Regions from separate parts of the Homo sapiens genome. Here region 1 is linked to region 2. Evidence: promoter capture Hi-C in human tissues and cell types (Jung and others, 2019). All regions are on one chromosome and are shown on one strand. The core of a region is centred on a gene start or on the middle of the fragment in contact, and the rest is flanking DNA. Distances in the headings are between cores, read along the strand shown. Region 1 overlaps SEMA4B (semaphorin 4B). Region 2 holds the start of PLIN1 (perilipin 1).

The links. Contacts are between HindIII fragments. The study calls those that stand out against the background at their distance.
Region 1: a fragment that was not itself captured here is called in contact with the fragment with the promoter of PLIN1 in region 2 in 1 of the 25 tissues and cell types used here (liver).

Annotation. Positions count from the first base shown.
Region 1 is chr15:90,210,330-90,215,638 of GRCh38, forward strand. The region is part of intron 1 of SEMA4B (semaphorin 4B); the gene reads left to right. Among named protein-coding and RNA genes, the nearest start is that of SEMA4B, 12 kb to the left of the region's middle. RefSeq lists an enhancer at 926-2,125 and silencers at 2,189-2,363, 4,308-4,602. The HindIII fragment of the contact is 4,496 bases long and covers 269-4,764 here.
Region 2 is chr15:89,677,501-89,682,406 of GRCh38, forward strand. PLIN1 (perilipin 1) reads right to left here and starts at 1,867. Exons shown (of 9, transcript NM_002666.5): 1 at 1,751-1,867; 2 at 1-3. PEX11A (peroxisomal biogenesis factor 11 alpha) reads right to left here. Exons shown (of 3, transcript NM_003847.3): 3 at 4,035-4,906. The HindIII fragment of the contact is 12,360 bases long and covers 1-4,906 here.

The DNA.
Region 1 (5,309 bases), core at 1,267-3,766, 530 kb after region 2:
AGGAGATTTGGGGATCGCCAGCATCCGCGTCATTGAAGTGATGAGCATGGACGTGTGACCCAGGGGCTTGAACGGAGTTAAGAAGAGCAGGGCCAGGAGCAGACAGACCTAGAGAGCAAGAACATTCAGGAGCAAAGCCTGAGGCAGGAGGGTGGTCATCAACACAGATGCTGCAGCCAGGTGGCCCAGGGTCGGGCGGCATCCCCACCACTCCTCCCGGGGATGACTTGCACCTGAAACAGAGGTAATAAAACACAGCAGCCTTGTGAGGATGACATGACTTAATCCGTTTAAAGGGCTGAGAAAGTGCTCACATACTTTAGCTCTTTGAGGGCTAGAGGCCCAGAAGGCATGTGAGGGAGACACGGAGTGATGCTTGAGACTGGGGGCACAGGTACCTAGAGGACGGGGTGGCGTGGCCCGTGTCTGGGGTCTGTCAGCGAGGCGATCCCTGGGCTCTTGGCAGGGCTGGCACTGCTGAACGTGGGGCTGGCTGAGGCCCAACTTCTGTGGAGGAGTGAGTGGAAGGTGAGAGGCAGAGATGGCATGGGGTGGCTGTTCTCTTTGGGAGCTTGTCTAAGGCAGGTGGAGGGAGGCACAAAAGTTTCTAGAATGGACATTGGAACAAAAACTGCTTTCTGACAGGTAGAGTTGGTGACATAGGATTTGGTCTCTGAGGAGATGGGGTGGGAAGTTGAGGTTGTTTATGCCTGATGACCCCGATTTCCTTGGAAGAAGTGGAGACATCTATAAAAGCAGGAAGGCAGACCCAGGGCAGAGGCCCTAGAAGCCGGGTTGTTAGAGGGGAGCCAGCCCCTGAGCAGAGGGACTGAGCGTGTCCCTGTGTAGACCTGTGAGCAGGCAGGCGGCAGGCAGGCTCCTAAGGTGACGGCAGTGGTCTGTGCACCCATGGCACAGGCCCTAGGTCGGGACTGGGACTGCCTGGGGGTTCTGGCAGAGGCTCTTCGTCTGCCCACTTGGGGCTGTAGCAATGGCTTTCCGGGGCATGCCCCAGGAGCACAGATGCTGTGAGGCCAGGTTCCCTTGCCCTCGTTGCCACTTTCTTGGTGACCTCAGTCCATGGGAGGACCCTTGGCACACAATACCCCCAACCTCTGCCCAGAGTCCCTGGTCAGGGACTCGACTCTGGCACTGGGCTGGTGTCAGCAGAATGTGGCCCCCTCCTCCATGCTCCATGAGGAAGAAGTGGCTGCCCTGCCCAACACGGGCCGTGTGGAGGAAGGAAGTGCACCCAGGTTGGCAGTGTGTCCCAGTTTCCTGCTGACTGTGGCCCCGTCAGCACTCCTGCCCTGGAGGTGGGGCTGCTGCTGGGGTAAGTGGGTCCAAGGTTCTGGTGACTTATCGTGACATCCCTGGGGACGAAGGGCTACAACAGCCTTTCAGGAGGCTCTCTGGGGACTTGTCCCGCCCAGACCCCTCTCTGAGAGTGGGGGAGGCCACTGGCTGCCTCCTTGCATTGGAGGCCCCTTCCCCACCGACTCCACAGGGAAGCTGGTGTTTTCTGGCCTGATCCTGCTGGGGCCTGTAGAGGGTGGGATGTTAGGGCCAGGTCAGCGTCTTGCTGCCGTGCCCGGAGCCACAGTAGAGAGAAAGGTGGGGTGGGGTTCTGAGTCACAGCGCTGCTGCAGCTAGCTGGCTGGCCTGGGGTGGGGACTAACCAGGGTGGGGATGGTGCTGAGCCCTATTCCTGTCTCACCCCAGAGAGCTCCAGGCTTCCGGCTGAGTCACAGGGAAGGAGGACCCTTACATGGGGCTGAGGGCTGAGTATTCCCACATCACTTCCTACTCAGAACCCCACTTCCTACTCAGAACCCCACTTCCTGGGGTGGGGAGTGGGGACCCTGCAGGTGACTCTTATGTGCCCATTCCATGTGCCGTCTCCCTCCAGGGAGGGACAGGGCAGCCCCAGACCAGCCCCGGTCTGCCTTTTTGAAGGATGATCTGCCTAGTGGGATGCACTGGCCTTGGTGAAGCCCCTGGCTGAAGCCTGTCGGGGTGGAGGGAGAGGGTTCACCCTGAATGGGAAAACCGGCCGCAGCCTCGGCGTGCCCTGCTTTCTTCATACTGGACTAACCCACTGGATAGATGGATTTAGAGGATGTCCGAGCAGCACAGGCAGCCCAGGAGAGCGAGCGAGACACTCTTTGACACAAGGGAGAGCATAAAAGCTTAAGACTGACCCCAAGGTGCGCCAGCCCCTCGCAGGAAGTAAAGTGCAGAAACACCTCCACCCCTGCACAAAGAGCACCTAGGAGTGAGTGCGCAAGCGTGGACAAGCCCTGCGGTACCGTGTACACACACACACACACACACACACCACAGGCAAGCTCAGGCAGGGTCCTTCACAGACGTCTGCAGTCACTCTGGAGGTGACCCAAGCACCTGGGCCCTTAGACAGTAACACCACTCACACCGAGCACAGACCAGCTCGCGCCCACAACACGAGCCTGTGACACGCAAGTCTCTGTTTCTGAGCTGATGCCGTCTGGCTTTGGCCATGAGACCCTCGTGTGACCAGGTGCGTGCCTAAGTTAGAATCGCCCAGGCTAAGTTCGTGAACCCCCTGGATGAGGGAGGCCCGACTCCCGCAAGGAGCCCTGCCCTTCTGCCAGCTCTCACCGGGCCGGATTTTCCTGCGGGGCTTTTGGATTTTGTTTTTGAGTCACTCATTGAGTGTTGGTCGCGTGCCAGACACCATGCCACACTGCAAACCATGTGCAACGTTGTTTTAGCAAAGCTGTCTCAGTAAATGTGGGTTATTATGTATATTATTATTTACATACGTAATCTCATTTTTTCTAATAACAACCCCATGAGGCAAAGTGTTATTATTTTCCCCATTTTACAGATAAGGAAAACGGGGCTTTGAGAGGTTAAGTGGCGTGTCCTGGTGGCACACAGCCAGTAAGTGGTAGAGGATGGCTTTGAACCCAGGTCTCTAACTCTACTCTGCACACCATGGCTTTCAGTCTGACTCTCAGGGCAGAGAGATGAGGCAAGTGTGGAAGGGAAGCCCCAGAAGGGGAAAGCCTGGTTAAGGGGCCCTTCACCCCCCTCTCCAAGGCACATTCCCCTTTCTGTCCCTTTGTCGTTTCATTCACTCTACTCCCAGCATGGCTGGAGGGCTTGTGGCTGGCTCGTTTGGAGGCCTGGGCTGAACCAGGGACTGGCTGGTCTATAGGTTTCCCCTCCAGCCGGCTGCACTCTGTAGTGCCCGAGGCAGGTTTCCACCCCTTCTCCCAGGCGTAAGTGGGATTGAGTTGCCACCTGGGACTGAGGCTTATCTCTGACTCTTGGCATTTCTTTGTCTGGACAGATTCCAAGGGCGGTCTGCTGCCCAGACTTACAGGGCCTGCCCAGGTGGAAACGCTCTTTTGCAGGTAGATAAGCACGGGCAACCAGCTTATCTGAACCAGCCCTTGCTTCCAGAGAACTATGGAAAAATCCAAAAGATAAGAAGGGACCGCAGTGTCTGTCTTGGTCTCACTCCTCTTGAGACTCCTGTGATCTTTATATGTCTCATTCCTCCCGTGACATGTATGAGAAACTGCAGCTCATTGAGACGATGTCTCTGCTGCCTGACAGAAGGGCCTACTTGAGGGCCGGGCTCGGTGGCTCAGCCACCTGACCCCCGTCATCCTGTTAACTAGTGTCACCCCCACCCGAGGGCTTCCTTCCCCATTTGCTGCCAGGTGTAAAGCTGAGCTTCGGCTGGGCGCGGTGGCTCAGGCCTATAATCCCAGCACTTTGGGAGGCTGAGGCAGGCGGATCACCTGAAGTCAGGAGTACGAGAGACCAGCCTGGCCAACATGATGAAACCCTGACTTTACTGAAAATACAAAAATTAGCTGGGCATGGTGGCAGGCACCTGTAATCCCAGCTTCTTGGGAGGCTGAGGCAGGAGAATCGCTTGAACCTGAGAGGTGTAGGTTGCACCATTGCACTCCAGCCTGGACAACAAGAGAGAAACTCCGTCTCAAAAAAAAAAAAAAAAAAGGGCTGAGCTGCTGGGCGTGGTGGCTCACGCCTGTAATCCCAGCACTTTGGGAGGCCGAGGCGGGTGGATCACATGAGGTCAGGAGTTCAAGACCAGCCTGACCAACATGGAGAAACCCCGTCTCTACTAAAAATACTTTGCCGGGCGTGGTGACATATGCCTGTAATCCCAGCTACTCAGGAGGCTGAGGCAGGAGAATCGCTTGAACCTGGGAGGCGGAGGTTGCGGTGAGCCAAGATTGTGCTATTGCACTCCAGCCTGGGCAACAACAGCAAAACACCATCTCAAAAAAAAAAAAAAAAAAAAAGGCTGAGCTTCCCCCAAATGGCTGATATGTGTTCCTCCTTATGGACATTGAGGATGGAGTAGCTTCATTTCCCATTTTTCTTTGGCCACCAGGAGGCCCAGCACTAAAGGCTCAGCCCTTCTCTACCAGCTGTGCGAAGACTCATTGACCTACTCGTGAATTTTTACTTCCTTGCTGATGGAGATGTTTTTCTTCAGATTTGGGTTTTCTCTGCTCCTGATTTTAATGTTTATATTTCACTACTTTCTTTTCTTCATGTCTCCCCACCCTTTATGGAACCAGGCTGGGGGTATGTAAAAACACTCCACAGGTAAACACACATGAAGTCATCTTCACAGCTGCTTGATTGGGCGTGTTGCACTTTTTGCTTCCTCAGCTTCGTGAGACTGTTTGTGTGGTCATAACCCACTGGTCCGCTACAACGTGCCTGAGGGTGGTCAGGGTGCTGCTCTTTGCTTGTTTTTGTGTTCTCATCAGCTGCTTAGAATTTTAAAAATAATTTCTCTCCAAACCCTTTAGTTACCCAAAGCATAAACAGTACCCTGGTGGGTAAGTGTGTGTGTGTTTCTTTTTTTTTTTCTTTGATTTATATATTTCACATTATATAAGGATAACCTGCTTATTAGAGAATCTAAAAATGATAACAAGTAAAAAAGAAAAGAAAGCTACCTGTAATTCTACCAGGGAGCCCATGTTTTAGTGTTTTGTGATACATCCTTCTGGATTTTTTTCCTATGCTTATATTTTTCCCACAAAAAATAGAATTTGACCATACATACTAAATATAACCTGAATTTTCACTTCATGGTAGATAATTCGTGTCTTTCCTTGTTGTTATTCTGCAAAAACAAAAGCTACTTAAAATGTGTACCAAGGTCTGGGCGCAGTGGCCCACACCTGTAATCCCAGCACTTCGGGAGGCTGAGGCAGGCGGATTGCTTGAAGCCAGGAGTTCGAGACCAGCCTGGCCAACATGGCAAAACC
Region 2 (4,906 bases), core at 617-3,116:
AAGCTGCAAAACAGAGTCCCAGGTCCCATCAGAAGCCCTCAGGCTTGAGCTCCACTGGGTCACTTCCCTACCTCTCATGGCCACCAACTAGGCCCAGGCTGCCTGGGGGCCCATTTGCCCTGAACAGAAGGCATTAGGTTGGAGGGTGAATATCACACACAATAGCCCCACTCCTTAGGGTCCCATAGCAATGAGTTGCTCCATAGCTTACTTGTCAAGACTGATGTTTCTTTCTTTTTCTTTTCTTTCTTTCTTTTTTTTTTTTTTTGAGATGGATTCTTGCTCTGTTGCCCAGGCTGGAGTGTAGTTGCACAATCTCGGCTCACTACAACCTCCGCCTCCCGGGTTCAAGGGATTCTCCTGCCTCAGCCTCCCAAGTAGCTGGGATTACAGGCGCCCACCACCACGCCCGGCTAGTTTTTTTTTTTTTTTCTGTTTAGTAGAGATGGGGTTTCACCATGTTGGCTAGGCTGGTGTCGAACTCCTGACCTCAAGTGATCCACCTGCCTAGACCTCCCAAAGTGCTGGGATTACAGGCATGAACCACCACACTGGCTAATTTTTGTATTTTTAGTAGAGATGGGGTTTCATCATGTTGGCCAGGCTGGTCTCGAACTCCTGGCCTCAAGTGATCTGCCCACCTTGGCCTCCCAAAGTGCTGTGATTACAGGCAAGAGCCACCATGCCCGGCCAAGAATAATGTTTCCTATAAGAGTTCAGGTTAAGAGGCCAGGCGCGGTGGCTCAGGCCTGTAATCCCGGCACTTTGGGAGTCCAAGGCAGGCAGATCACCTGAGTTCAGGAGTTCAAGACCAGCCTGGGCAACATGGTGAAACTCCGTCTCTGCTAAAAATACAAAAATTAGCCAGACGTGGTGGTGGGCAGCTGTAATCCCAGCTACTTGGGAGGCTGAGGCAGGAGGATCGCTTGAGCCTGAGAGGTGGAGGTTGCAGTGAGCTGAGATCCTGCCACTGCACTCCAGCCTGGGTGACAGAGGGAGACTCTGTCTCAAAAAAAAAAAGGAGTTCAGGTTAGGAAATAAAAAATGCAGGTAGCCATAAGAGATAAAAAGTTTTAGATAAAATCTTAAGGCTCTTAAATGAGGGTCCAAAAGAGACTAAAACAAGAAGTTTCAAGCTGGGTGCACTGGCAAGCACCTGTAATCCCAGCTACTGAGGCTGACATGGGAGAATTGCTTGAGCCCAGGAGTTTGAGATCAGCCTCGGCAATACAGTGAGATGCCCATCTCTAAAAAAATAAATAAACAAGTTAAAGGTTTCATCTTTGAAAAGGCTCTGGGTTAATTCCTCTATTTCTCTCTTTCTCTCTGTCTGTCCCTCTCCCCCTCTCCCTATCTGTTTTTTGAGACAGGGTCTCAATCTGTTGCCCAGGATGGAATGTGGTGGCACGATCATGGCTCAATGCAGCCTTGACCTCCTGGGATCAAGGTACCCTCCCACCTCAGCCTCTCATGTAGCTGGGACTACAGGCATGCACCACAATGCAGGGCTAATTTTTTCTCTTTTTTTATAGAGACAGGATCCCACTGTGTTGCCCAGGTTGTTCTTGAACTCCTGGGCTCAAGTGATCCACCTGCCTTGGCCACCTGCAGTGCTGGGATTAAAGGCATGATCCACTGTGCCTATCCAATTCCTCTATTTCTAGATTCTGGTATCTATACCAGAATCTCTCCCTCAGTAGTTTCCCTGCAGAGTTTTTCATCCCCAGCAAAATCCCCAAGAGGCCCTTACCTTCAACTTCTTCCCTTTAATGTTCATAAACAAGCCATGTAAGGCAGGTGCCCCAGGACCCCAACACTCACTCCGGCTGACCGCCACCTCAGTCTCACAGAGCCCAGGCTGCAGAGTGTCTCCTCAGGCAGAAACAATTCCTGTCACTCCTGGGAGGCTTGGGCAATGCTGCTTCCACCTCCCAGCTAGAGGAGGGCAGAGAGGGAGAGACAACAGGGTCAGCCAGTTGTCATGGTTATATGACCCAGGGTTCCCCAGGCATATCCTAACTTCTCTAAGGACATTTAGCAAACAAGGAGGTAGGTGGCAGAGCTGAAGGAGATCCAGGCTCAGAGGACTTAGTATTCCAGAGCCATGAAGCATCAGTTCTGTAATGTTCCTGCCCTCAATTCACAAAAATCTGCTTTCCAGAAAGAAGGTATAGGGATAGACATCATTAAACTCAAAAGCTCTAAAGTTCTATATACCTCTGCAATCTTTTGGCTCCTTTTCCATAGAGGGTCTTGTGGGAGTTTTCAATCCATTTCTCTCATCTTTTCTTATTTACTAGCAAGACTGAATGCTGAACAGTAAAATTTAAACCCACACAGAAGAGTTCATCTGAATGTATTCATCTTTGATTATGGAGATAAATTGCCCTCAGTGAAGAAGCGACAGAGCCGGGAGTTGAGTTTTTGACAATATAGCCTTTGAGTTGAGGGAGGAATTCCCACTTCTTAGAATTCAAAAAAATTTATTGAACTTTACCTGGCCTAAGATGCTACCAGAATGAAGAGTAGGAGAGCCAAGTAGATTTTTATTCTCCTGGGTCTGGATAAGCGACAGTGTTGACTAGGATTCTATCACTAATCAAGAGCACCCAGACAGCCAAGAATTAGCACCACTCAACCCTTCTTTACCCAGGACTCAAGCACAAGCCCAAGTTCTAGTTCCTGGCTTTAGATATGATGGAGGACTATGGTATAAGCCATAGCTTTCAGATTAACTAAGAAGGGCCTCTTCATGAAAACAGACAATAGGAAAACAAAACTTATTTTCTTTGTTGCTGGTGGAATTATATGTATTGTTGACTCTGTTAAGTCACACAGTGTGGGCAAGAGAAGAAAGAGGCAGGGGTGGGGAATTATGAAAGATCCTTGGTAATAAATTACGTATCTGTGATGCAATAAAGTAGGGAATGAGAAGGCAGGAAAGGGAGGAGTCAAGCAGGGAGGCTTCAAAGGAGTAATACGCTATACGTTTAATACTTATTGATCCAACCTGTGCTTTTCAAATGTAAGGCAGTAGAGAAGACAAAGTATTTAAAGAAGTGGCCTCTGCCCTCACCTCAAGGTTCAGCACAAATTATCTGTGAGGCTGTGACTGGACAGCAACCTGAGCCAAAGGGCAGTTTTCAGCCTTCAGAGTAGTGGCTTTGGGCCAGAGGGAACATAGGGCTTTGTGCCTGAAAGCTCTGCCAAATCAAATAGTCCTTTGGCTGCTTTAGCTGGGAGTGCAGAATGTGGGTGAGAGGTGAGAAGTGGTGAAAGGGCCTAGGAGAGTCCCGAGGGAAGACAGAAGTGTTAGTTTTCTAGCAGTAGCTTGCAGGGCATAGAGTTCTATCTTCTTTCCTTCTCCGTACCTACCTGCTTTCCCTACCCCTCCACCAAGTGAGAGCAGGGACCTAGGTCATCTTGCTCACAAGTGGATACCCAAAACCATGCATGGCACTCAAACATTCATTGTTGAATAAATGAATTGTCAGGCAACAATGCTCAGTTGTGAATGTGCTGGGCTGTACATCTACGAAGAACTTCTTCGATTTTTGGCATCCCTCATGAATGTGGAGGCTCTGGGGTGGAAAACATTAGTTACAAAGAAGGATTCACAGGGTGGTACCAGGACACCATTAAGGTTTACACAAACCTCTTAGAAGAGGTAGTATTTCCCAAACTCCCCACCACTCACCATTGCAGAGGACAAAAGTACCAAGATGGATACCACTGTAACATAACATACCACCATGAATTCAAGGCAGACTTACCTAGGCAGAAGCCAGCCAGCGATTGACAGGGCTACTGTAGAGCACCATCTCCATGGCAGCAGTCTAGATGAGTTCATTTCAGAGGTCCCTCTCAACCCAGAGGCTCTACATCTCAATCTTTCTCCATCCTCCTCCTCAGCCTGGATCTTCTAGCCCAGAGCTCGCTGTACCAACTGTGTAGGCTGATTGAGGATTATCTGATGGATTGCCTTATGTTTAACTCTTCTCTCTTCCCAGAACACACTCACAGACACAAGTCAATTTTGTCTAGAAATTTATTGAACATAGTTAATCTATTACAGTAGAGGATCTGGACAATAAAAATAGTTATTTAAGCTTTTTATTTTCCCTGACCTAGTAGCTTTCATGTCTCTTAAAATTCCCTAAATTTTATTTCTCAAATCCCATATCGTGATTGGTTAAACAGACAGCCAAGAATCTGAGTCTATTTTTTGAGAATCTCAATCACATTTCTGGGAAATGTGACTTATTGAGTACATATTTATTTTCTCATTTCCATTCAGATAAATGACACAGCTTTGCTGGGAGGACTGACATCGGCCTCCTACCTGCTGGCATCCTATTTCTCTACCTCACCTCCCTCAAACTAAAGGATCTGTAACCACATATAAAGACCCACACCCAAGATGGCAGATAGGAACACAAGTCAATGTCATTGACTCAGCATTCCATTGTCCTCTTCACTGGCTTCCTCCTGCGCTTTCCACCTCCCTCAATCACCCTAGAAATAAGATGTCTGATTTATCGTAGAAAATTGTGACTCTCTTACATCTGGAGTATTCATGAAATTTTTTTGACTGGATAAATTTTGATGAAAATTAATGTAGAATTGCCTAAATTGTTAGAAGGATTTAAATAAAACAATCTAACTGATAAGTCTAAATACTGTCTTAATTTTTTTTTAAGACACAGGGTCTTGCTCTATCACCCGGGCTGGAGTGCGGTGGAAGCTCACTGCAGCCTTGAACTCCTGGGCTCAAGTGATCCTCCTGCTTCAGCCTCCAGAGTATCTGGGACTACAGGCATACTCCACCATGCCTGGCTAATTTTTTAACACTTTGTTGTAGAGAAGGAGTCTCACTACATTGCCCAGGCTGGTCTTGAACTCCTGG